Linked DNA regions of Homo sapiens: regions 1, 2 and 4 are each linked to region 3. The links are contacts of gene promoters, found by promoter capture Hi-C in human tissues and cell types (Jung and others, 2019). All regions are on one chromosome and are shown on one strand. The core of a region is centred on a gene start or on the middle of the fragment in contact, and the rest is flanking DNA. Distances in the headings are between cores, read along the strand shown. Region 1 overlaps ANKRD11 (ankyrin repeat domain containing 11). Region 2 holds the start of ACSF3 (acyl-CoA synthetase family member 3). Region 3 holds the start of RPL13 (ribosomal protein L13). Region 4 holds the start of CDH15 (cadherin 15).

Region 1 (5,392 bases), core at 2,893-5,392, 270 kb after region 3:
GGGGCACCGAGTCCTGCCCATTCTGCACATGTTGGGTGTGAGCTGCACCTGAGATGGCCGCCCTGCAGGAGTGGGACATGTTCTGTTTGCCACAAAGCAGCTCTTTGCTGCCCCTCAGAGCGGGGACGCAGCGTGGGCTCCTGGCCTGCCAGCCTAAAGACTGACTTCTAAGGAACGCCTTTGCCTCTGCCTGTTCCTCTGACACACGCCTCCTAGGGTCCTTTGATAACTTAAGAGCATGGCAACGCCTGCACTTCGGGATGTAAACATACTGCAGCCCCAACACCGCCCCAGCTCCTCCCAACACCGCCCCAGCTCCTCCCTCCGCAGCCCCACCTCTGCCCCAGCTCCTCCCTCCGCAGCCCCAACTCTGCCCCAGCTCCTCCCTCTGCAGCCCCAATACCACCCCGCCTCCTCCCCTCCGCAGCCCCAACACCGCCCCAGCTCCTCCCTCCGCAGCCCCAACTCTGCCCCAGCTCCTCCCTCCGCAGCCCCAATACCGCCCCAGCTCCTCCCTCCGCAGCCCCAACACCACCCCGCCTCCTCGCTCTGCAGCCCCAACTCTGCCCCAGCTCCTCCCTCCGCAGCCACAACTCTGCCCCAGCTCCTCCCTCCGCAACCCCAACTCTGCCCCAGCTCCTCCCTCCGCAACCCCAACTCTGCCCCAGCTCCTCCCTGTGTCCACCCCTAGTGGCCACATGCAGCACAGAAGTGGGGCCCACTCGCTTTTCACTTCTGATGGTCAATGGAATAAGGAGATGCCGTCTGCTCCCAGGAGTCTCCTGTGCTGTGTGCAGCTTTGCAAAGTCTGTGTATCTCGGGGATTCTGCTTTCCTCGTGTTCTCAGGGGGCTTCGTGTCTCCAAAACATTAACCCCCCTGCTCTGGGTGACGGAGGGAGCAGGCCTCTGAATGTGCGTGGCTAGGTCTTGGGGATCAGGGCCCTGCAGAGGTTCTCAGCTGCTTCTCCAGGCGACTGTGGGCAGACCAGCTGCTCGGTGAGTGTGGGCCCCTCCTGGAGAGAGGAGGACTTGAGGGCTATCGGTGGGGGAGCTGGGGTTTCTCCAGCAGCTTCGTCGCCTCTTTCCTAGAGGGAGGCAGCCGCAGGCCTGCTTCTGTTGTTTAGAGGTGGCTATGAGAAGCAAGCCTGGGGAGGGCCGGCCCCCGGGCAGCATGGAGGGTGCAGGGAAAGCATGGGGCGCACGCAGAGACCCACAGCCAAGCGCCTGTGACCCAAGCTCACTGCTAAGGTGTGGCTACGCCAATGATGGCTGTAGGCTGGGGCTCATTGGCCGGTGGCGAGGCTGCCTCCCCAACCACCGTGTTTGCCAGGTTCTATGAGGGGCTGGGGCCAAAGCTCAAGTGCTTTCTCAGATCTGTGCGTTGAGGACTGTTTACAGACTAGCTGGTGGTGGCGATGGCAGCCTGCAGTACTTGGGGTTTTGCCCATGAGTGTGACGCAGGTCGATGTGGCCAGGTGTGTGCCTTCCTGCAGGCTTGTCCCATAGGACATACGAATCCACATTCTCAGCATGCCCCAGACCGAATTCCTAAGAAATCAGCCTCAGATACCTTGGAAAGAACTAGAGTGGGTGGGCAGCGTCCTCTTAGGAAATCGACGGGCACATTCACGGGGACCATGGTGGTGAACAGCAAGAGAGTCGGGCCCTGGGAGCTGAGCTGAGAGACTAGTTAAGACCGTTCTGTGTTCCAGTGACCGGGCAGGTGTGGGATCCAGTTAGTCCGTTGTTAGAGATGTCTCCCACCTCTGTAGGATCAAACACCAGCCGAGGGAGAAGTCCTGAAGAGAGGCTTCTTGGGAGTGCTGAATGGAAGGGAAGGGAGGTGCCTCAGAGGAGAGCTTCAGAGGCCCACGTCTTCCTGGTGGCCCTTCTTCCCCGAGTCAGGCCTTGGCAGAGCCTTGCCTCTGCGCTGCACCTCTGCAGTTTCACCCCATGACCTAGAAAACCCCAGAACCCGCAGGGCAGCTGGAGGAGGATTCAGAGGTGTCTGGCCCCTGATTTCCATCCACAGGAGGGCACTGGTCAGGCAGAGGAGGAGGCATCTTCTGTGCCCCCGACTCTTGGTGCTTGGGGTCTTCTCTTCCCCGCCCCTGCCTCCTGCCTCTTTTAAAAGACACAGCACGTGAGTTGCGTTAGACGCCAGCCGAGTGTTCTGTAACGGGTCAGATGAGTGCAGGGTGTGCTTGTTACGAGGAGGCTGAGGTGGAAACAGCCGAGCTCTCACACCGTGTCTTGTTAGTGCTCTGTGTTGATGCCTTCAGATGCCTCCAGCCCAGTCCCTGTTGTGGTGCTGCAAGGCTGGTACGCTCCTCGAAGCACCATGGCATGAGATGGAGGTTCCTAGAAGCAAGAAGAAAGGTACAGTACTGACCAGTTGGCCTTGATTTACTGATGTGTTTTAAACTGTGTCTGCCATTTTATATCTGCACTGTTTGGAGGAGGGACGGGGAAGGTGGAATTGAATTACAGACACGTGTATTGAACAGAGACCTGTCCTGTGTGAGCCAGGTCACCGGTGCTAAGCTGTCCCACCGCATTCATGTGTGGTACGAGGTCTGGGGAGGCCCAGGAGAGGTGCCTGGAGTGAGTGGATGCTCGGTGGAGGCCCAGGCTTAGCAGACTTGAGGGGCTGGTAACGAGGTGTTTAAATGGTCTCACAGTCACTGCTGAGAGGTGAGGTGGGCGGCACCAATGCTCCCAGCACCGCTGTGCTTTCCCCATACACAGACCTTCCTTTCTGCTCTGTCAGCTGTCAGGTGGACGCAGGGGGCTCCGTAACATTAGGTAAGGACCTAGCTTTGGAGGACACCATGGCATGAAATCTCTCCTCCCTCTCTCCCTCGCCCGCCTCACAGAGAAGCAGGGCCCTGAGCGGAAGAGGATTAAGAAGGAGCCTGTCACCCGGAAGGCCGGGCTGCTGTTTGGCATGGGGCTGTCTGGAATCCGAGCCGGCTACCCCCTCTCCGAGCGCCAGCAGGTGGCCCTTCTCATGCAGATGACGGCCGAGGAGTCTGCCAACAGCCCAGGTGAGCCCGGCCTGTGGGTGGTCCCTGGCGCAGGGAAGGGGCTCTGCCTGGTCGCAGCCTCATGGCTGTGCTGAGGACAAGCCCTGTGCAAAGGGACCTCGTGATGGTGGCCTGGGCTCTTGAAGATTGGACAAAGCAGGACCACCCCACAGTAATGCCCATCTGTCCCCTCCTTGGCCTGCAGTGGACACAACACCAAAGCACCCCTCCCAGTCTACAGTGTGTCAGAAGGGAACGCCCAACTCTGCCTCAAAAACCAAAGATAAAGTGAACAAGAGAAACGAGCGTGGAGAGACCCGCCTGCACCGAGCCGCCATCCGCGGGGACGCCCGGCGCATCAAAGAGCTCATCAGCGAGGGGGCAGACGTCAACGTCAAGGACTTCGCAGGTGGGCACCCTGTGCCTGGCAAGGGCCAGAGAGCCCCACTGGAGCCCTGAGCCTCCCCCAGTGGAGTCCTGAGCCTCCCCCCATTGGAGCCCTGAGCCTCCCCCCATTGGAGCCCTGAGCCTCCCCCCATTGGAGCCCTGAGCCTCCCCCGCTGGAGCCCTGAGCCTCACCCCATTGGAGCCCTGAGCCTCCCCCCATTGGAGCCCTGAGCCTCCCCCAATTGGAGCCCTGAGCCTCCCCCGCTGGAGCCCTGAGCCTCCCCCCATTGGAGCCCTGAGCCTCCCCCGCTGGAGCCCTGAGCCTCCCCCCATTGGAGCCCTGAGCCTCCCCCGGCTGGAGCCCTGAGCCTACCCCCATTGGAGCCCTGAGCCTACCCCCCGCTGGAGCCCTGAGCCTCCCCCATTGGAGCCGTGAGCCTCCCATCGGGTTGGATGGGCTGTGGCCTCGTGGGGTGCGCGTCTGCTCTGCAGGGCTCGGGGTGTTCACAGCCACACTCACTCCAGTGGGGTTCCCTGTTGCTGAGAAGAAATCAGTGTTTCTTGGAAAGTATTTCAAAGTAAACTTGTTTGCTGGGTTTTATTGTTATTTTTATTTTTAGATAGGGTCTCGCTCTGTTGCTCAGGCTGGAGTGCAGTGGCGTGATCACGACTCACTGAAGCTTTGAACTCCTGGGCTCAAGCGATGTTCCCAACTCAGCCTTCCGGGTGCAGGCGCACGCCACCATGCCTGGCTAATTTTTTTATTTTTTGTAGAGACGGGGTCTTACTAAGTTGCCCAGGCTGGTTTGAACTCATGGCCTCAAGCAGTCCTCACGCCTTGGCTTCCCAAAGTGCTGGGATTATAGCTGTGAGCCCCCATGCCTGGCCTATCTGTAAGAGAACTGAGGAATTTTAAATTTTACTCTGCTGTGTTCCATAAACCTCACTCCAGGCCCCTGGAGGGACCTGTCCCTGGTGTGTCTAGCACATGGCTGCATTCTCCAGCAGAGGGCACCTCTGAGCCGGGAGGCCGGCTGGGTCGACACCCTGGACTGGACTCCCTCACTTCACAGGGCTGGGTCCTGGGGCTTGCCTGGGACCCGGAGAGAACTGAGCGAGCCTCCCCAGACCTGATACGGCCCAGGGGCTTAAGAGCTCCATGATTAGAGTTTAATATTCCCTTTCTTTACATAAAATACCCCCATCAAACCATGAGTGGTCCACATATCCCAGGACTGTCTGTCCACAGTGTAAGGGGAACAGATGAGCAAAATCGTGTGTGTAGAATCCTTCTAGATTTCTCCAACTGCCCTGGTTTATAGCTGTCTGACCCAAACCTAATTTAGCACCTTTTTTTTTTAAAGCATTTTTCTAAAAGAAACTTCTCTAGAGCAGTGCCGTGTGCTTCCGTGGGGCCGAGCTCTGTTTCCACGGATGCGTGCGGCCACACCGTCCGATGGTGGACTCCAAGCTCCCCAGCCAGGAGCTGCCTGCCCGGGGTGGCCTTCGTCGTGCAGCCCGAGCCTGGGCGCCCCTGGAGCTCCTGCTGTAGCAGCTCTTCAGCCTTCAGGAGGCTCTCAGCCTTGGTTTCCGTTTCCGACACGGGAGGTTTCCCCTCCGTGTTTTGCAAAGGCACATACGCCTCCAGATCGGTGAGGATGAGGCTGCTGTTTACTACACTGTGTGTTCACTGATTTCCTACCCTTTTAGGGTGATTGCCGCAGATTAGCCCTGCAGGTTGTCAGTCCGTAGGGTTAATAAGCTAGATATGGATCGTGCTAACGAGGTGCCACAGTAAAGAGAATTTAGGGGTTCTCTGGGCCAGCACCTGCTTCCCTAAACTGCAGCCCTCACTACAGGGCAGCTCCCCACCTGGCTTGTCCCCGCACTGTAGCACATCCTCAGGGCGCTGCCTCCAGAGACAGGAGGGAAGTTCTGAGGATTAAATAACGTACGTCCTGAGTGTCTGTTTCCAGGC
Region 2 (5,913 bases), core at 1,851-4,350, 470 kb after region 3:
GCGCGGAATCCAGAGCGCTGCCTGTGGGTGGGCACTCCTGCCACCAGCCCCTGGGAGGTGACAGATGTGACTGGCCCCGTGTGACATGGTCCCAGCTCCCAGAGAGCCCACGCGCTATGAGGAGAGGCCACGGGCAGGAGGAACGGACGGGGGCCTGGTGGGGAGGCTTCCTATGGAGGGTGAGAAGGGCCTGGCCTAGCCAGAGTCGGCCGAGGGAAGGGGGGAGTCCTGGCACCTACAGCTGTGTTCACTCGGGGTGTCTAGGGCACAGATGCCGGGAAGTCACATTGCTGGGTCATCTTTAATTTTGAGAAATACTGACAAAGTCCCCTCCAACGAGGTGCTGATTTATTCTCCCACCAAGCATGTGGAAAACGGAACCAGCCCCATCAAACCAGCTTTTCAGTCCCTCAGGCTTGGGACAATGAAGTGCCCAGTCATCAGTTCTCTTCAGCACAGAGGTTGAATCTTCACGGTCATCGGATCAGAGCCCTGCCTCGAACACGCAGACAGAGCCTACTCAGGGCAGATGGCTGTGCGCGGTCTTCCTGCACACCTCCCGGTCCAGAGGCACCCCAGCTTCCTCAGAGAGAACCTCACCTTTCAACCACTGGGACCCCTTCTACCGTGGGGCTCCCCATCACCACCAGGAGCACAGTGTGGAGGGACACTGCCCACCAGACAAATGCAGTTCAGTCAGGGGCTTCCACCCTCAGCCAGCTTCATACCCCTGCTACGCAGCACCCTGATAACCCGAGGTCAGCGGCGTCACCACGTGGCTGGGCAAGGACTCTAGTCAGAAGCTGAGAAAGGTGCCTGAGCCAGGACAGCCTCCTTGGTGAAGGCGTACTGGAACCACTGAAAACAGTGGCTCTCCAGCCCTCGGGGAGGGAGGCAGGACCTCTCGGTGTTCTAGCCATCAGGTTCTGAGATCAGACCACTAAGGCACTGGGGCTTCTCGGGAACACACATGCAGCGCAGCGGGATGCATCTTTTCCCTCCTAACTGGAGTGCTGGTTAATGGCAGAGTTAGTCACCACAGGCTTCGACTTGAACGGCTGCTGCCTTTGTCCTCATTTCCTCACTGGCCTAGCCCTTCACTTCCCACCGCTAAGATGGCACAGTAACAAGACCTGCCTCACAGGCTTCACGTGAGAATGTACGAATGGCCCGGCACAGGCCAGGCAGAAGACAAACGGCCGCGCCGTGCTCAGCAGGGTGCTCCCCATGGAGCCTCGCAACAAAAATTACTAGATGAGAATGACACTCGCATTCAAATGAAGGGCTGCTTTCAACATGAATAAAACGACACCTGACCTGTTCACCACCACACCTGACACCCCCGCCCCCCCAGACCTTGTGTTTGAAGTGGATGCCGGCACTTCCTCCTGTCGGCTGCCCCGATGAGAGCGTGGGGCAGAGGAGGGCTGTGCTCGGCCTGCGGGGCAGGATGCGTTTCAGCATCACACCTGTGGTTTGGAGGGTTATTTTCAAAATTACATTTTTAAGTAACAGACATTCACATTGCATTCATGAGCAGTACATTCAAATAAAAAAAACCAAAAAGGAAAAATACACTTGAAACCCATATCCATTTTAGGAAGAAAAATACTATTTTAAAAATGCCATCTGGAAAGGTGACACTTACAACTATCCCAAGCCCACAGTTTAATCCGCCATTTCTGTCTGCCTTGAGGAGATGGTTCAGAGCCAAAGGAGCAAGAGCAAGGGAAGCCTCATCTTATGTCCTCCAACACCTGCGGAGAGGACACCAGCCTGAGCCAGGCTTCACGCTACAAAGCTCGCAGGGTCCCCAGGGTCCACCGGTAGTAACACCCGTGCTCCTGGGTCCACCATGTGAACCCCCTCCTCAACAAGGTCTCAGCCTTGGGCCCTAACACGAATGTCTGTCCTCCCAGGATGGGAAAGCAACAACTATGCCCCAGACACAATTCGTGTTCCTATCTCTAAACGTGTTCCCTTTCTAGCAAATTCCTAATCATTCTTCCAAGCCCAGTTCAAATATCACCTCTTCTTTTTCAGTTTTATTATTTATTGAGACAGTGTCTTGCTCTGCCACCTAGGCTGGAGTGCAATGGTGCTGTCATGGCTCACTGCAGCCTCCGATTCCTGGGCTCAAGAAATCCTCGTGCCTCAGCCTAACCAGTAGCTGGAAGTGCAGGTGTACGCCACCACACCCAGCTAATTTTTACATTTTTTTGTAGAGATAGGGGTCTCACCATGTTGCCCAGGCTGGCTTTGAACTCCTGGCCACAAGTGATCCTCCTGCCTCTGCTGCCCAAAGCGCTGGGATTACAGGCATGAGCCACTGCACCTGGCCTGCCTGGTGGAATTTAGACTCAGGACAGCAACATCAACTCCTGACTGCACCGGGCCTCACCCCTTTAAACCTTCCCTCTCTCCAGGGAATGGGCTGCCTGCAGTACCTTCCAAATACTTCACGGCCGGCCGCACGTCTCCATTGCTTGCTCATAGATCTACATGCCCTCAGGGGCTAGGCCGGCTGTGAACCTGTGCCCCACGCGCCCAGCAAGGTGCACGCAGCAAACAACTAAAACGGGGAGTACTTCAAGGGTGACTTCTGAAGCCCAATGAGAAATGGAAGTGAATTTATTCCAAACACAACCAAAGACGATTCGTTCTGAGGATGCCTGAACACGGACCCCGCCGGCTCGACGGTATCACCGGGCCCGGCGTCCGCACAGCTTCTCTCCCCGCACCCCGCGCGGGGGCCCCGCTCCCCACCGGACACGAGAGGCTCGGCGTCCCGGGAAGGCCGACGCCCGGCCCCAGGCGGCTCGCGGGGAAGCGACCGCGCCACGGGCCACGGCTCAAGCCCAGCTGCGACCCAGGGGCGGGCGCCGGAGCCCGCGCCCCCGAGAGCTCTGCGCCCGGCCGACCCCGCCGCGGTCCCGTGGGCCCCGCCGCCCGCACCTACGAGACGGCCGCGGCCACGGGGCAGGATCTGCCTCGCCACAACTCTTCCTCGTCCTCCGCCGCGCGCGCGCCGGGGTCGGGCCGGGTTCCGGCCGGGTCCCGCGGGGTCGTGAGTCGGGCCGGACCAGTTCCGGCGCCCAACAGCTTCCCCGGCGCGGCGCGTCCGTCGCCCAAGCGCGTCCCCCCGGCGCGGCGCCGTGGCGGCGGGTTCCGGGCGCGCGTGTTCCCCTGTCCCGCCCGTCCCGTCGTGGCGGGGTCGGGGCCGCGGGCGTCTCGTGAGCCGTGGCCGAGGCAAGGCGCCGTGGTCTCCGCTAGCCCAGGGCTGCCCAGATCAGAACGGCGCGCGGGACCACTCCCAACGCGGATTGCTGGGCCTCGCCCCGTCCTCCCAAAAGGGGCTCTCTGGGCTTTGCGGCTGGGGGTCTGCACGCTGAGCTCCTGGGTGATTTTATTATTATTATTATTGTTGTTACTTTTTCTTATTATTATTATTATTTTGAGATGGAGTCTCGCTCTGTCGCCCAGACTAGAGTGCAGTGGTGTGATCTCGGCTCACCGCAACCTCCGCCTCCCGGGTTCAAGTGATTCTCCTGCCTCAACCTCCCAATTAGCTGGGACTACAGGCGCCCGCCATCATGCCTGTCTAATTTTTGTATTTCTTGGGTGATTTTAAACGGACCGCATTTGAGAATCTCTCCTCGAAGGGACTTGGGAACCAGGATACGAATATGAAGCGAGACTGTTGGATGGACAGTGGCGGAAAACATTTAAAGCCAAACACAAAGTCCAGTTGGCTGAAATTTGAGGGTTTTTCCCCTAAAATGAATACTAATAACACAAAGACATGTACTGGCAAACAGTAGTACAAATTATCTGCAGAACCGTCCTGGTGTGATGGCTCACGCCTGTAATCCCAGCACTTTGGGAGGCCGAGGTAGGCAGATCACGAGGTCAGGAGTTCAAGACCAGCCTGACCAACATGGTGAAACCCTGTCTCTCCTAAAAATACAAAAATTAGCCGGGAGTGGTGGCAGGTGCCTGTAATCCCAGTTACTCGGGAGGCTGAGGCAGGAGAATCTCTTGAGCCTGGGAGGTGGCGACTGCAGTGAGCTGAGATTGCGCCACTGCACTCCAGCCTGGGCAGCAGAGTGAGACTGTCTCAAAAAAAAAAAAAAATTATCTGCAGAACCTTGCACAGTTTTTTTGTAAGTGTATTATTTTCCATGCCCATCTTCCTCTCTTGTGATGATTGCTGGGGCAGCAGTTGTGTCCTTGGAAAGCTCAGGAAAGGGCACTTCAGGAGCCCGAGGATGGTTTTCCTGGGAGGAAGGAGCTGGATCTGGGGGAAGTTTGTAACACAGAGCGTGGGAGAACAAACCCAAACTTCTAGTGCCTCTGGTTGCCACCCTGCTAGGTATCATGCAGAAAAAGCAAGTCCAACCCTCTGCCACTGGGACAGGCTTGATCTGGTGTCAGAATTCTGTCTGCTTCCAGGACTCAGCAGGCTGAATGGTGTTTCCGACGAGGGCAGTAGGAAGAGTAAGGAGGGCGTCTAACATCAGGATTCAGCCCCAGGACGTGTGTGCGCAAATTTCTATCCCTGGGAAGTTGAAGAGCTCAGGCTGCGTCACCCACCTAGAGACAGGACTTGGGACAGGGTGACAGCTCCCGTGGTCCTTGGCCATGGCTCTGTGAGGGTGGCAGTGGGGGGAGGGTGCAGTCTCCGAGAAATGGCCCAGTCATCCTATGAGCAGGGGTCCCATCTGTGCCTCGGCTCTGGTCAGCATCATAGTGGCAGGTGGGAAGCAGGAGCAGTCAGGGATTAGCAGACATTGGAGGACAGCCTCTAGCCAGAGAGACGTGGGCTGAAACAACCAGCAGAACAACTGCAGGCAGCCAGGCTGTGCAGAGTGAAGAGACCCCCAAAACCACCCCCTGTTAATACCCTCAGGGAGACAAGGGAAGCGACAGCCCCCATGAGTCCAGAGCGAGATGCCCCGAGAAAGAGCGTTCCAGTAACATAAAGGGGGGCTGGAGGGGTCAGAATACAACAGCCTGAGTAAAAACCCTAAGGGAAGGGCTAAAGGACGTCTCCTAGAAATAGAACAGAAAGACCGAGAGATGAAAAACAGGAGAGGAAAGATAAAAAAATCAGTGGGCTCAGGCAGGCATCCAATATGCTAAATACGGTAGTTTCAGGAAGGGAGGGCAGAGAAAACAGAGAGAAGTCAGCTGTCAGGTAAACTCGTGGACATTAGCAGACGAAGGGCTGCAGAACATCCAGCGCAGGGAGTGAAAGTGGCCGCACCAACCAGGCAGACGACGTCAATGTAGTTTAGAACATGTGGACAGGGAGGGTCCTAAGTGCCCACCTGGCATCTCACTGGGACATCCAAGAGACATCAGACCCCGATGTGGCCCCAGAGGAGCTCAGGTCTCCCCCGCAGCAGCGCCCCCACCCTCACACTTTGCATCTCACCCTCGATCCTGGGGTTCAGTCTATGGCTCCCTGCTTCCCTCCCACACCACATTGAGTCCTACTGGTTTCTCCTGCAAATTCTGTCAGAGACTGTCCCACCAGCGCTGCTGTAACCACCCAGACCAGGAAAGCCTTGTTTCCTAAAGGAGTCCTCACTGGATTCATGAAGAACCCAACAGTGGCTGGAGTAGCCCCATTAAAACCTGAGTGGGATCCTGCTCAGAACCCACAGGGGGTCCTGCCCAAGCCCTGTTGTGGCCACCAGGTCCCCGAGCCCCGCCCTCCTCCCCTCTGGCCTTGTTTCCTGTGACTCCCGGGAGTCCTGGCCTGGCAGGCAGGGGCAATCCCCCCGCGGGAAGATGGTGGACAGAGTGTCCTGTGTGTTTACCATGTTGAGAGGAGACTTGAACAATGCAAGCAAAGTTTAGGGATAGATGATCAATACATAGAAAACTAATCAAGAAAAATAAGGCAGA
Region 3 (5,618 bases), core at 1-2,500:
GTCCATTAAGGTTATCTCTGCGGAAACGCACAGGTGAACCTTAGCAGTCCCGCTTAGCTCATCACCCACAATGTTTTGGTTCTTCTCACCCCAGCAAGACCCAGGGACCGGTGTCACTGATAAAGGAGCCAAGCCTCACTGTCCCCGCGCACCAGGACGGCCAGAGAGCCGTGTACTCACAGAACTGTCTCCCTTCTTGGGGGCCGAGGGCTTCCTGGGGAAGAGGATGAGTTTGGAGCGGTACTCCTTCAGCCGCTGCACGTTGGCCTGCAGGGACTCCGTGGACTTGTTCCGCCTCCTCGGATCCACAGAAATGCCGATGGTCCGGGCCACCTTCTTGTGAATGCCGGCCACCTGCCCCAGAACCAGAGAGAGATGGAGACAGGCCCGGGCTTTCTCCAGCCCCGAGGCCTGGATGAAAAGCCTCAGCAATCAGATGGAAAAGGGTTCAAATGTGCTTTCATCAAGGCCGTACAGCGATTCCGGAGAATGTCATCACGCGACTGAGGCCAACAGAGGGGACTTCGGGGCCTTCCTGACACCGCAGCGCTGCCAGTACTCACCCTGAGCTCCTCCAGGCTGAAGCCGCGGCCGGCGCGCACCTTCGTGTGGTACCGAACCGTGGGGCAGCGCACGATGGGCCGGATGGGACCCGACGCGGGGCGCGGGGCGATGCGGCGCGCCTTGGCTTGCCGGGCCTTACGTCTGGTGGAGAGAAGCGCAGCGGCGGTCACCCTTGCCTAAGGCCGCCAGGCCAGCGCTCCGCGACGGTTGCAGACAGCGCCCCCCGCCCTGGCATCGGCCACCCGCAAGCCAAGGCGCAGCCGCGGGCACGAGCCCCAGGGGCAGCCCCGAGCGCAGGGCTCACCTGCGGATCTTACGGGCCGGCTGGTTGAACCACGTGGCCACGCGCCGCTGCCAGTCCTTGTGGAAGTGGGGCTTCAAGACCATGCCATTCCGGCTGGGCGCCATGGCTGCCTACGGCCCTGCGGCTGCGGACGAGAGGGGAGCGAGTGAGAGGCCGGACCCCGGGCGCGCGCACCCCCCCGGGCCTCCGCCCCGAACCCTCCAGACTGGGCCGTCCGGCCGCGCCTAGAGCCCGGGCAGCGGCCGAACGCTGTCTGCGAAGAAGAAGGGGCCCATCCACTCCCGCGTTGGCTGAAGCGCCAGGCCGATGGCGCTGGATGATGCCCAAAGGCCAGGACCCAGTCTCCCTCACCTCCTGCGCAGGAAAACAGCCGAGCGGAAAGGAAGCGGCCCCGCAATGCACTCTGGGATGATAGCAGGGCCGGCCAACCAGAAGCGCCGGGCGCTCTGACCAATCAGAGCCCCGAAAGGAGGAACTGACGTCGCCGCGGCTCTCCCGGCAGCCCTAGGGCCGCCGTCGCAGACATGTTGCCGCTGAGAATGCGGCGGGGCGGCCGTGATTCCTGGGCCCTGAGTAACCGACGGCCGGACTTGCTTGACGTCCGCCGTTACTGCCCCGGCGCTTCAGCCGCTGCGCGGGCCGCGGCCGAGTCCTGTCTTGCGGGCTAACGCGCGCGAGTCCGGTATCTGGGCCGACGGCGAACGGGCGACGCCCGAGGAATTCTGTTTGTTCACATTTGTGAGACACGTTTGCAGCGCAAAGGCAGAAAAACTTCAGTGACATCCGAGTTTGCGCAACCTAAGGCCTTCGTCCTTGTCGTTCCAGCGTTTATTCTCCTCCCATCCATTTAGAACATTTGTGGTTTTTTTTTTTGTTTTTTTTTTTTGGAGACGGAGTCTCGCTCCGTCGCCCAGGCTGGAGTGCAATGGCGCGATCTCGGCTCACTGCAGCCTCCGCGTCCCAGGTTCAAGCAATTCTGCCTCAGCCTCCCGAGTAGCTGGGATTACAGGCGCCCGCCGCCACACCCTGCTAATTTTTGGTATTTTAGTAGACGGAGTTACTGTTGGCCTCTGTCGCTTTCCCTTGGCCCAGGATTAGGTGACTTCTCTAAGGTCAGGGGTACCCGACTGAAAATGTCACACTCTGACCTGCTGTGCCTACTGCCTTCCTTCACAAAGAAAAGCATCAACAAAAAGCCATCTCTTCTCTAGTATAAGTCTGTGAAGGCACCATCCATCTTACTGCTACCTGGAAACCTTTAAATCCCAATAACCCTCTTTCTTCCCTACCCTCACCCAATCACCACGCTTCCTCCTGGTAAAACTTATTATTATTTTTTTTTTTTGAGACGGAGTCTCCCTCTGTTGCCCAGGCTGGAGTTCAGTGGTGCGATCTCTGTTCACTGCAAGTTCTGCCTCCCGGGTTCACGCCATTCTCCTGCCTCTGCCTCCCAAGTAGCTGGGACTACAGGCGCCCACCATCACGCCCAGCTGATTTTTTGTATTTTTAGTACAGACGGGGTTTCACTGTGTTAGCCAGGATGGTCTCGATCTCCTGACCTCGCGATCCGCCCGCCTGGGCCTCCCAAAGTGCTGGGATTACAGGCGTGAGCCACCGTGCCTGGCCAACGTAATCCACATTTTAAGAATTTCACAGTTCCAGCACTTTGGGAGGCTGAGGTGGGCGGATCAGCCGAGGTCAAGAGTTTGAGATCACCCTGGCTAAGATGGTGAAACCCTGTCTCTACTAAAAATACAAAAAAGCTGGGCGTGGTGGCGCATGCCTGTAATCCTAGCTACTTAGGAGGCTGAGTCACCAGAATTGCTTGAACTGGGGAGGCAGAGGTTGCAGTGAGCCAAGATCACATTACTGCACTCTAGCCTGGGCAACAGAGCAAGACTCAGTCTCAAAAAGAAAAAAAAGTATTTCACAGGCCAGGCACGGTGGCTCATGCCTGTAAATCCCAGCACTTTGGGAGGCCGAGGCGGGTGGATCACCTGAGGTCAGGAGTTGGAGACCGGCCTAGCCAACATGGCAAAATCCCGCCTCTACTAAAAATACAAAAATTAGCCATGTGTGGTTGTGTACACCTGTAATCCTAGCTACTCCAGAGAGTAGGACAGGGGAATCACTTGAACCCAGGAGGCAGAGGTTACAGTGAGTCGAGACTGCACCACTGCACTCCAGCCTGGGTGACAGAGTTAAGCCTCCGTCTCAAAAATGAAAAATTTAAGAGCTGGGCGTGCTGGCTCACACCTGTAATCCCAGCATTTTGGGAGCCCAAGGCAGGCAGATCACGAGGTCAGGAGATCGAGACCATCCTGGCTAACATGGTGAAACCCCGACTCTACTAAAAATACAAAAAATTAGCCGGGCGTGGTGGCAGGCGCCTGTGGTCCCACCTACTTGGGAGGCTGAGGCAGGAGAATGGCGTGAACCCGGGAGGCGGAGGTTGCACTGACCCAAGATCGTGCCACTGCACTCCAGCCTGGACTACAGAGCAAGATTCCATCTCCAAAAACAAATAATAATTAAAAAATAATAAATTAATTTCACAAAAGGCTTGGCACAGTGGCTCACACCTGTAATCCCAACACATTGGGAGGCCAAGGCAGGAGGATCACTTGAACTCAGAAATTCGAGTCTAGCCCTGTCTCTACAAAAAGTACAAAAATTAGTCGGGCATAATGGTGCGTGCCTGCGGTCCCAGCTACTTGGGAGGCTGAGTCAGGAGGATTGCTTGAGCCCAGAAGATCGAGGCTGCAGTGAGCCGAGATGGCGCCACTGCACTCTAGCCTGGGCGACAGAGCAAGACTCTGCCAAAAACCAACACAACAGCAAAAAAAAAACAATTACCGAGGACACTACCCTTGGCTACACCAGCTAAAACCCTCCCATCGATGTGCTGGTCTTTGGATTTGGAGAACTGGGGCAAAGGTCAAGGCATCTCTCAGAGATGCCACCCTCGGGTGTGTGACTGCACCTGTGGCTGCCTCCTTACTGCTCCGCCAGCGTTTCAGTGTTGCAGCAACAAGAGGACAATCCACTCACGTCACTGCACCACAGGGAGGGCAGAAGCAAGGGGGCCGGAGTGGGAGCCGCATGCCCCGGAACTCAGGGCCAGGGTGTCCTGGGTCGTCTTCTATCCCTACGGGGTCCAGGCCCCAGATTCCTACAGAAGGAGTTTTTCACTTAGTCCCTGCATTACTCAAATTATAAACTGAAACCACAAGACCCTGTGATCCAGGGCAAGCCCACCAGCTCCTCTGCATTAGAGCTGGCCAGACAATGCAAATGTAGATTTTCCAACTACACAGTTTATTAGTAAAGTATCTCAACAATTCTCAGAGCAGTAAAAACCAAGGCATCCCCAACACTGCATGCGTGACTAGACCAGCAAGAAGTCCTCAACTTGCACCAGTCCACATGGCAGCAGGGGGCAGTGGTGAGTCCTCCGGAGCCCAGTGCCTGGGCCTGACTGGCCCCATTGATGAGTGAGCTGGATGACAGGGCCGCTGGAGATAGGACAATCGGCTCACAGGGTCCTTTCATGTCCGATCCCCTTAGCATTCCGAGGGAGCCACAGGAACTGGGGCGGTCGTGCAAGCGTCGGCATGAACAGGGGTCTGTTTGGAGTCTGAATGCTCTGCTGCCTCTGGGTGGCCTCAGCCACACTGGGAACGACTGTCTATAACCCTGGGAACTCGAAGTGTTCCATGCTCACTCGGGAAGCACTGATAACCTTCCCCATAGGGGAAACGACTCACAAACACAGGACTCCGTCAGTAGTTTCTGCAGAGAAACTTAAAATCATGAAAAGGGTCATCAATCAACAGATCTCAGAAGTCACTGTGCAGGGACTACTGAGGGCCGCGAGAGGAAGTGCAAACCTCAGCTGAAAAGCAACTCAGGGTGGCTGAGTGAGCCCTCACTTCCCGGACCACCCGCACGTGCAGCCAACACCTCCCAACTACTTGGGCCAAGTCGGCTCTTCGCCTCCAAGTGGAGGCTGCTGGGTCTCTTCGGTCTCCTCCTCGCCCAAGTCCTGTTTCTCCCTCTGGGCGTCGATCCACCTCTGCGGTGCGATCATTTTCTTCGGCCCATGGGGCGGCGGGCCAATGAGAGCCTCAATGTCCTCATAGTTTATCACTTCCTTTTCCAGAAGGGCGTTTGCCAGCTAGAAAGAACAGGCATAGCAGTGTGTGAGTCCCCAGGGCAGACAGAGCATCTCTATGTCCTGGGGAGGTGGCAAGAGGCGTGAGGGCCTGTCTGTGTGCAGGACACCCAGGACAGGCCACTTTCCCAGGGAAGCGGAGGCACGGAGGCAGCTCCGAAAGAAGAATCACCCCCATCTCAACCTCATAAATGATTTTCCGGCGGCCAGCCTCATTAATTTTTCTACTTCTATTCAAAATCTTGGCTTATTTTTGGCAACTGCAATTTCTTTCACCAAACAAGACGTGTGTGTCTACAGGGAAGGAGATGGGTAAAATGCTGAACCCTCCTGATTGAGGAGAGCAGCACTGGGAGAAGGAATCTGAGGCGAAGTTGTGTGAGCTGGGACCTCTCAAGTTGGGGAAGTGAATTTCTGCCATTCTAGGTGGGATCCTGGAAAACACTTGAGACACCGACTGTCCTGTGCCGGTGGACCTGCCCCTGGGGTGGCCTGGCCAGACCACAGAAAACACTGCCACAGCCACATTTCACTGGTTTCTGTGAAGGCAGAACTCTTCCAGATTTTTTGTTGTTG
Region 4 (5,750 bases), core at 3,109-5,608, 390 kb after region 3:
GCTTGGCCTCTGTCCTCCACCACCGGCCGCTTACCCTGTGTGGACGAGCAAGGCCCAGGCTGCCCATCTGCCCACCCTGAGATGGGGCACTGGGGCCTCTCGCTCTGACTGTGTCCTGTGCCCAGGGCTGGCCCAGCACACAGAGGTCCCCACAGGCAGCGGCAGCAGCCTCCAAACCATGGCCACCTTCCCTGGGGTTCTTGGTCCTCGGCCAGCAGGACCTGAGTCCCCTCCTCCATGGCCTCCTGGGAGTCCAGAGAGTAGCAAACGCTTTGGCAGGAAGCAGGGAGAGGATGGGGTGGGGGTTCCTCAGGCTCCCAGGCAGGGGACCCTGCCGGGGAAGCTCTCTGCCAGCTGACAGATGGCGGCCCTGGCCTCGGAGCCTGCCAGCACCCACAGAGCACAAGCCACTTCCAGGGCAGGGCAGCTCCTGCCAAGTGGAAACCTGCCTGCCCAGCATGGGGCCTTCATCAGCCTCGGTGGGCACAGGGTCTGTTTCCGGCCGTGGCTGGGCAGCTTTGCACCTCCCTCTCCCCCTCCCCTTTGGTCCTCCCAACCCCCCGGGAGCCTGTGGTGGTCCCTTCACCTCCCAGCTCTGGGCAGTGAGGTTCAGAGAGCCTGAGGCATTTGCTCAAAGCCACACAGACAGAGCCAGGAGTCACGTGGGGTCTGAGACCCAGATTAGGCTCTGAACCGCATGCTCTGAAGGAAATCCAGCCACAGAGCCACACCGGCCTTGGGCTAGGCATGGGCATGGGGCAGGGAGACCCCAGGCTCTAGGAACCCCACACGGCTGAGGTGGAGGGGCCACCCCCACCCGGGCAGACGTTTCCATCCCCTCCCTGCCCAGCTGCCACCAAACCTGGGCCAGCCCTGTTCACCCAACCTCCAGCTGCCTCCACCGGAGACCCTCCAGTCACGCTGGGCCGGGTGTGGTCAAGCCAGAGGCTGGGAGTCCTGGGCCCAGGCCTGTCCACAGCCTGAGTTCACCAGGTCACAGCAGCCACAGAGCCTTGGCAGGGCTCACTTGCCCAGATCACGGCCAATGTGGGTGTGGGTGAGCAGGCTGGCCACGGCCCACTTCCGGCTCTCGGGGGCGTTCTCAAAGCTGGCTCTTTGTCCTCCCACCCCATCCCCGTCCCAGAAGACGTGGCCAGTGGAGGGAGGGCCTGGGAGCCGTCCTGGGGAGATCGGGACATCCGGTGCCCAGGACAAAGCCACATCAACGCAGCCAGCCCACAGCCCTGCACCTGGGGTAGGGGACGCAAGCACCCTGGGAGGTGGATTTTGTGGACACTCGTCCACTCCTCTCTGTCCCCCACCCAAGCCAGGCAAGACCCATGGACATTAGTGACCTGCTTCCCCACAGGGGGTCCCCAATGACACCCCCAAGCTCATCCTCGACTGGACCCTTAGCCAAGAGCCTGGAGGGAACCACCTCGAAGCCCTTGAGACGTCTGGGGCCACCGCCCTGCAGCCAAGCTCCTGGGACTTAACGCCTCTCTTGAGGTCTGCTCCTAGCCTGACACTCAACCCCAAGGGGCTGCTGTGTAAGAAAGCTCTGCACACACTGGGCGCTTGCTGCAGTCTACAAACACCACTGCGAGGTGGGAATGGGGTTTACGAACACCACTGCGAGACGGGAACGAGGAGCGGTTCTGGGGCCGACCTTGCACTCCTGCTCCCCCGGTTTTCCAAGGAAGGGTGCTACGAGATTCTAGGAACACGCTTGGTGGCGTGTGGGTGGGTTTGCCTGGGAAGAGAGTGCGAAGGCCCCTCAAGCTTCTCAGGCTTCAACCCCTCCCCCAGGCTGGAATCTGGGGCCACCCCGTTCCTGGATGGCCAGGCATGCCAGGAATGGCCCCAGCTGTTGGCCTGGCCCAGAGCGGCTGGAGCATCTTCCCTGGGCCCCACCCTCTCTAGCTGCTGCGGGCTTCAGAGAAGGGATGTGGAAGAAGAGGCATGGAGGCAGCTGTCCCCTCCAAAGCACGGTGTCTGGGGCTGTCCTTCCACTGTGGGAAGAACAGTGGCCTGGGAGCCACTTCCCTTCTTGGCCTTGGTCACAGTCACCCGAGCTAAGAGCCCCTGCCTGGCCCCCAGGGTGCTGCTGACTGTCTCCCAGAGACCAAGGGGCTCCCAAAACCCAGATGCAGAAGTGGGGACCTTCCCAGCAGGCTGGGGTTCTCTGTGAGTCAAGTGTGCTGCCCCAGACCTCAGCCGCCTCCCAGCTGGGGTGGGGTCCCAGGTGTAGAACCAGCAACTAGGGATGGTGTAGGTGCAGCAGGGCTGAGAGGGGCCAGTTCTGAAGACACCCTCCGGGTGGGGCTGAGTGAGCTCAGCAATCAGAGGTGGCCCGAGCAGGGGAGCAACCCCTCACTTGTAGAAGGCCCTGATGGGCCCACGCTGCCTGCCTGGGGGCTCACCAGGAGGCGGCCCAGGACCCCAAGGCTGCCCAGGAGAGCTCACAGTCCTGAAAGCTGAGCTGCTGGGGGAGGGGCAGGCAGGGTCCTGACACTGACATATTTTGCCTCACAGTGGAGTGAATTTGAGCCTTGGCGATAGTCCCCTTGCCATCTGGCCCCCACCTCCACCACCTCCCCCAGCCTCCAGCTGTCGGGGGAGGGGGTTATTGTCCCCCAGCCCTGGGCGAGAAAAGAAGGGACAGTGAGAGGGAAGGCTTCTGAGGAGGGAGAGGTCCTGCCTGCCTCCCCACCTGCCACAGAGCCCCCTGGGGCCTTTTGAAAGGCAGACACTCCCAAATCCAAAGGAAGAGGTCTGGAGGAATGTTTTCACAGGCGCCAGCCTCCCCACCACCATGCCCTGGGTTGGGGTGCCAGGGAAGAAACCCTGTCCCCAGAGCAGGTGGGGAAGGGCCCTGGAGGCATGGAGCCCCCCAGCCTGCGCTCCCCGGCAGAGGGCTGAGGGGTGGAGGGCCGGGGGGTGAGCACGCATGCTGAGCCACTGTCTCCCCCCACCACTGTCTCCAGATGGGGGAGTCGGGGGTGGCAGGAGCCGTGGTGCCCTCAGGGGCAGCTGCTGGAGGGTCTGGCTGGCCAGGCGCCTGGTCAGCTGCCAGGGGCTGAAATTGGAGCCAGCTGGAGCTGGGAGGCCTGTGGGAATGAGGGGACTCAGGAAGCCCCTTCAGTGGGGGCTGGGAAAGGAGTGGCTTCCCTTACTCACTGTGTCCAGCACTCCCTGACCACCCCAGGACCACAAGAGCAATGAATACTGTGAGCACCGCTAAGCCCTTTATGTGCATTCTCTCTCGAATTGGCCAGAGAGAGGCTGCCCTCTTGTACCCAGTGACGTCCCAACCACAGCCGGCCATGCCCCAGCCCAGCCCAGTCCCTGGGGGCTGAAGCCACTGAGGCCACATCCTCCATGTCTAGGTCCCCCTAGGGTGTGAGGAGACGTGGCTCCAGCTAGGCAGTACCCATGTCGGGTGTGGGGGGCTGAGGCCTGGGCTTCCTTCCACTCTGGCTTGCTCCCACGTTGGAGAGACCACGGTGCCAGCAGTCCAGACAAGATTTTTAGGGGCAGAGTCCAGCAGCCTCTGGGGGCTGGGCCCCCAGGCCTGATCACCCCAGGCAGCTGCGGCAGGGTCCCAGGTGAAGCCCAGGAACAGAGCCCCCAGGGCTGCCACACGCCACTCTGCAAGGCCGTGTGTTGCGACCTGGCTCGGGCTGGGCCCTCCCAATCGAGAAGTAGCCGTGAGGGTGAGTTCCTGGGGGCAGGGCCTGCAGCCACCCCTGCTGGCCAGGAACTTGGGGTGGGGGGTTTGGACAAAACCCAAGACTAGCCAGGGGTCCTGTGCCCACCGCAGGGAGTCCCTATAGAAACCTGGCCCCCAGCCCCCCAGAGAGGGGCACTCCTGCCGCTCCCCCCTCTCTCTGCTCCACTCAAGACTGGCAACCCCCAGACCCCGGCAGCGGTTCCTCCAAAGAGAGGGCACGGCTACCTGGGTGGCCCCTGCCTGGGGTCCCTGACCCCAGCAGCACTCTGCAGTCCTGGGGGTGATTCCACCAGATGGAGTGTTTGGTTACACTCACTCCCCACAACCCCTGGGGTGCTGCCCCCAGCCCAGGGACCCACCCGGAGCCACTCCGCTCACAGGCCCCCAAAGGCGACCAGGGCCAGTGGTTCTGGGGGAGACCTGTGCGGCTGCAGTTGAAGACACTGTCCCGCAGCGTCGAGGGAGGCAGCGGGGACCCCCGCAGGTGCCGATGCCTTACCTGGGCCAACAGCCCGAGGACGAGGAGGAACGCGGCGTCCATCGGGGCCGAGGCGGGAGCCGGGCCGGAGTGCACCCGCGACCCGAAGAAGCGCGTCCAGGCTGAGTGACAGCGCAAGTGCGCGGGGCGGGCCAGGGCCAGAGACAGAGACAGCACGTGTGAGGGGGGCGGGGAGGGGGCGGGGCAAGGGCTGAGTGACAGCACGAAGGAGGCCTCTGACGGGCCGAGGGCCGGCCTGGGCAGGGCTAAGGCTGAGTGACAGCGTGTTGGCAGGCGGGTGGGGCGGAGCCTCTGGCGAGCTAGGGCGGGGCGCAGGCTGAGTGATAGCCCGTGTGCGAGTGGGGCAGGCGGGGCGGGGCCGGGGCCGAGGGCTGAGTGACAGCGCAGGTGCGCCGGCGGGGCGGTGACCGCACGAGGCTGGTGGGGCGGAGCCAGAGGAGGATGGGGCGGGCGGGGCGGGGCCGAGGGCTGAGTGACACCTTGTGAGAGTGCGGGGTGGGGCCGGGGTGGGGCCGGGGCGGGGCCGAGGGCTGAGTGATAGCTTTTGCGGGGTTCCGGCGGGCAGGGCCAGGGCTAGGTCGGAGATACCCCGGCTTGCTGCGTTGGGAGCAGAGCCAGAGGCCAGGCTGTGGGGAAGGCAGGGTGGGTGCGTCCGGGTCAGGGACCAGCTGGGATTCCTGGCTTCTTCATTTCCTGCTCCTTGGGCCCGGCTCGCCCCTGCTCCAGGGAATCTGCATTGTAGTCCCTGCCGGGGGACACCTCTTGAGCACTTCCTTGGGCCCCTCGCCTCTCTGGCTGCGTCTCCTGCGCCTCCCCGCATCCCACTGAACGCTAGGCCCGCCTTCCACGCACCTCCTCGCGACCTCATTTTGCCCAGCTCTTATTCAGTATGGAACTGCTCTGGTTCACACGCCTCTGATACCAGCGTGGCTCGTAGGACACCCCCAATTCCCCCAGTCCACGCACCTCCTCCAGCATCCCCTTGTTCCCCGAGGCCCCCTGCCTGGAGCACCTTCCTTCCTACAGAACTCCTTCTCATCATCCCTCAACACCCAAGGTCAACGCTGCCGCCTCCTGGAGCCTCCTTGCCACCTCGGCCAGAAGCCCTCCCTCCTGTTGACTGTGGCACCTGTTCTCCCCTTCGAGACCCCGCCCCCTGGGATGGTGTGGGTGTGGCTCAACACCTGCACAGGCCCAGCGCACGGTCAGGAAGGTCCTGGAGAGGGGGTGGAGGGGGCTGGAGGCAGGAGGATCCTTTCTTTTGAGCAGGCAGGGTGGGGAGTGGGGGTTGCCGACCAGCCCAGGGCCGGGCCGGGGAGCCCGTTCCTCTCTGTGATGGGAGCAGACCCGGTACCTCTGCTCTCCTGTCGACGGCGGGTGGCTGTGCAGGTGCAGGCAGCATCTGTGCACTTGGCCTGCTTGAAAGGAGGCCAGGCTGCCCGGGAGGCTCAGGCCAGGACTGTCCCTAGCGCTCACTGCTCCAAGATGAGAGAGGGCAGGGAGTCCATCTCCAGACTG

The links. Contacts are between HindIII fragments. The study calls those that stand out against the background at their distance.
Region 1: a contact is called between a fragment that was not itself captured here and the fragment with the promoter of RPL13 in region 3, in 13 of the 25 tissues and cell types used here (IMR-90 fibroblasts, adrenal gland, dorsolateral prefrontal cortex and 10 more).
Region 2: the fragment with the promoter of ACSF3 here is called in contact with the fragment with the promoter of RPL13 in region 3 in 1 of the 25 tissues and cell types used here (spleen).
Region 4: the fragment with the promoter of CDH15 here is called in contact with the fragment with the promoter of RPL13 in region 3 in 1 of the 25 tissues and cell types used here (liver).

The regions. Positions count from the first base shown.
Region 1 is chr16:89,288,669-89,294,060 of GRCh38, reverse strand. ANKRD11 (ankyrin repeat domain containing 11) reads left to right here. Exons shown (of 13, transcript NM_013275.6): 5 at 2,878-3,048; 6 at 3,233-3,436; 7 at 5,391-5,392. Among named protein-coding and RNA genes, the nearest start is that of ZNF778, 74 kb to the right of the region's middle. RefSeq lists enhancers at 1-358, 2,052-2,898. The HindIII fragment of the contact is 4,448 bases long and covers 1,919-5,392 here.
Region 2 is chr16:89,091,039-89,096,951 of GRCh38, reverse strand. It overlaps ACSF3 (acyl-CoA synthetase family member 3), which reads right to left and starts at 3,100. Exons shown (of 11, transcript NM_001243279.3): 1 at 2,956-3,100. RefSeq lists enhancers at 928-1,097, 2,317-2,506 and a silencer at 2,927-3,336. The HindIII fragment of the contact is 24,302 bases long and covers 1-5,913 here.
Region 3 is chr16:89,556,314-89,561,931 of GRCh38, reverse strand. It overlaps RPL13 (ribosomal protein L13), which reads right to left and starts at 1,250. Exons shown (of 6, transcript NM_000977.4): 1 at 1,220-1,250; 2 at 869-992; 3 at 564-705; 4 at 181-354. The coding sequence starts at 972. It overlaps SNORD68 (small nucleolar RNA, C/D box 68), which reads right to left and starts at 502; the gene lies at 431-502. SPG7 (SPG7 matrix AAA peptidase subunit, paraplegin) reads right to left here. Exons shown (of 17, transcript NM_003119.4): 17 at 4,166-5,045. The coding sequence ends at 4,839. RefSeq lists silencers at 668-717, 778-1,047, 2,589-2,808 and an enhancer at 1,158-1,267. The HindIII fragment of the contact is 11,945 bases long and covers 1-5,618 here.
Region 4 is chr16:89,170,356-89,176,105 of GRCh38, reverse strand. CDH15 (cadherin 15) reads right to left here and starts at 4,358. Exons shown (of 14, transcript NM_004933.3): 1 at 4,233-4,358. The coding sequence starts at 4,274. RefSeq lists an enhancer at 642-1,141 and a silencer at 4,283-4,922. The HindIII fragment of the contact is 6,474 bases long and covers 1-5,750 here.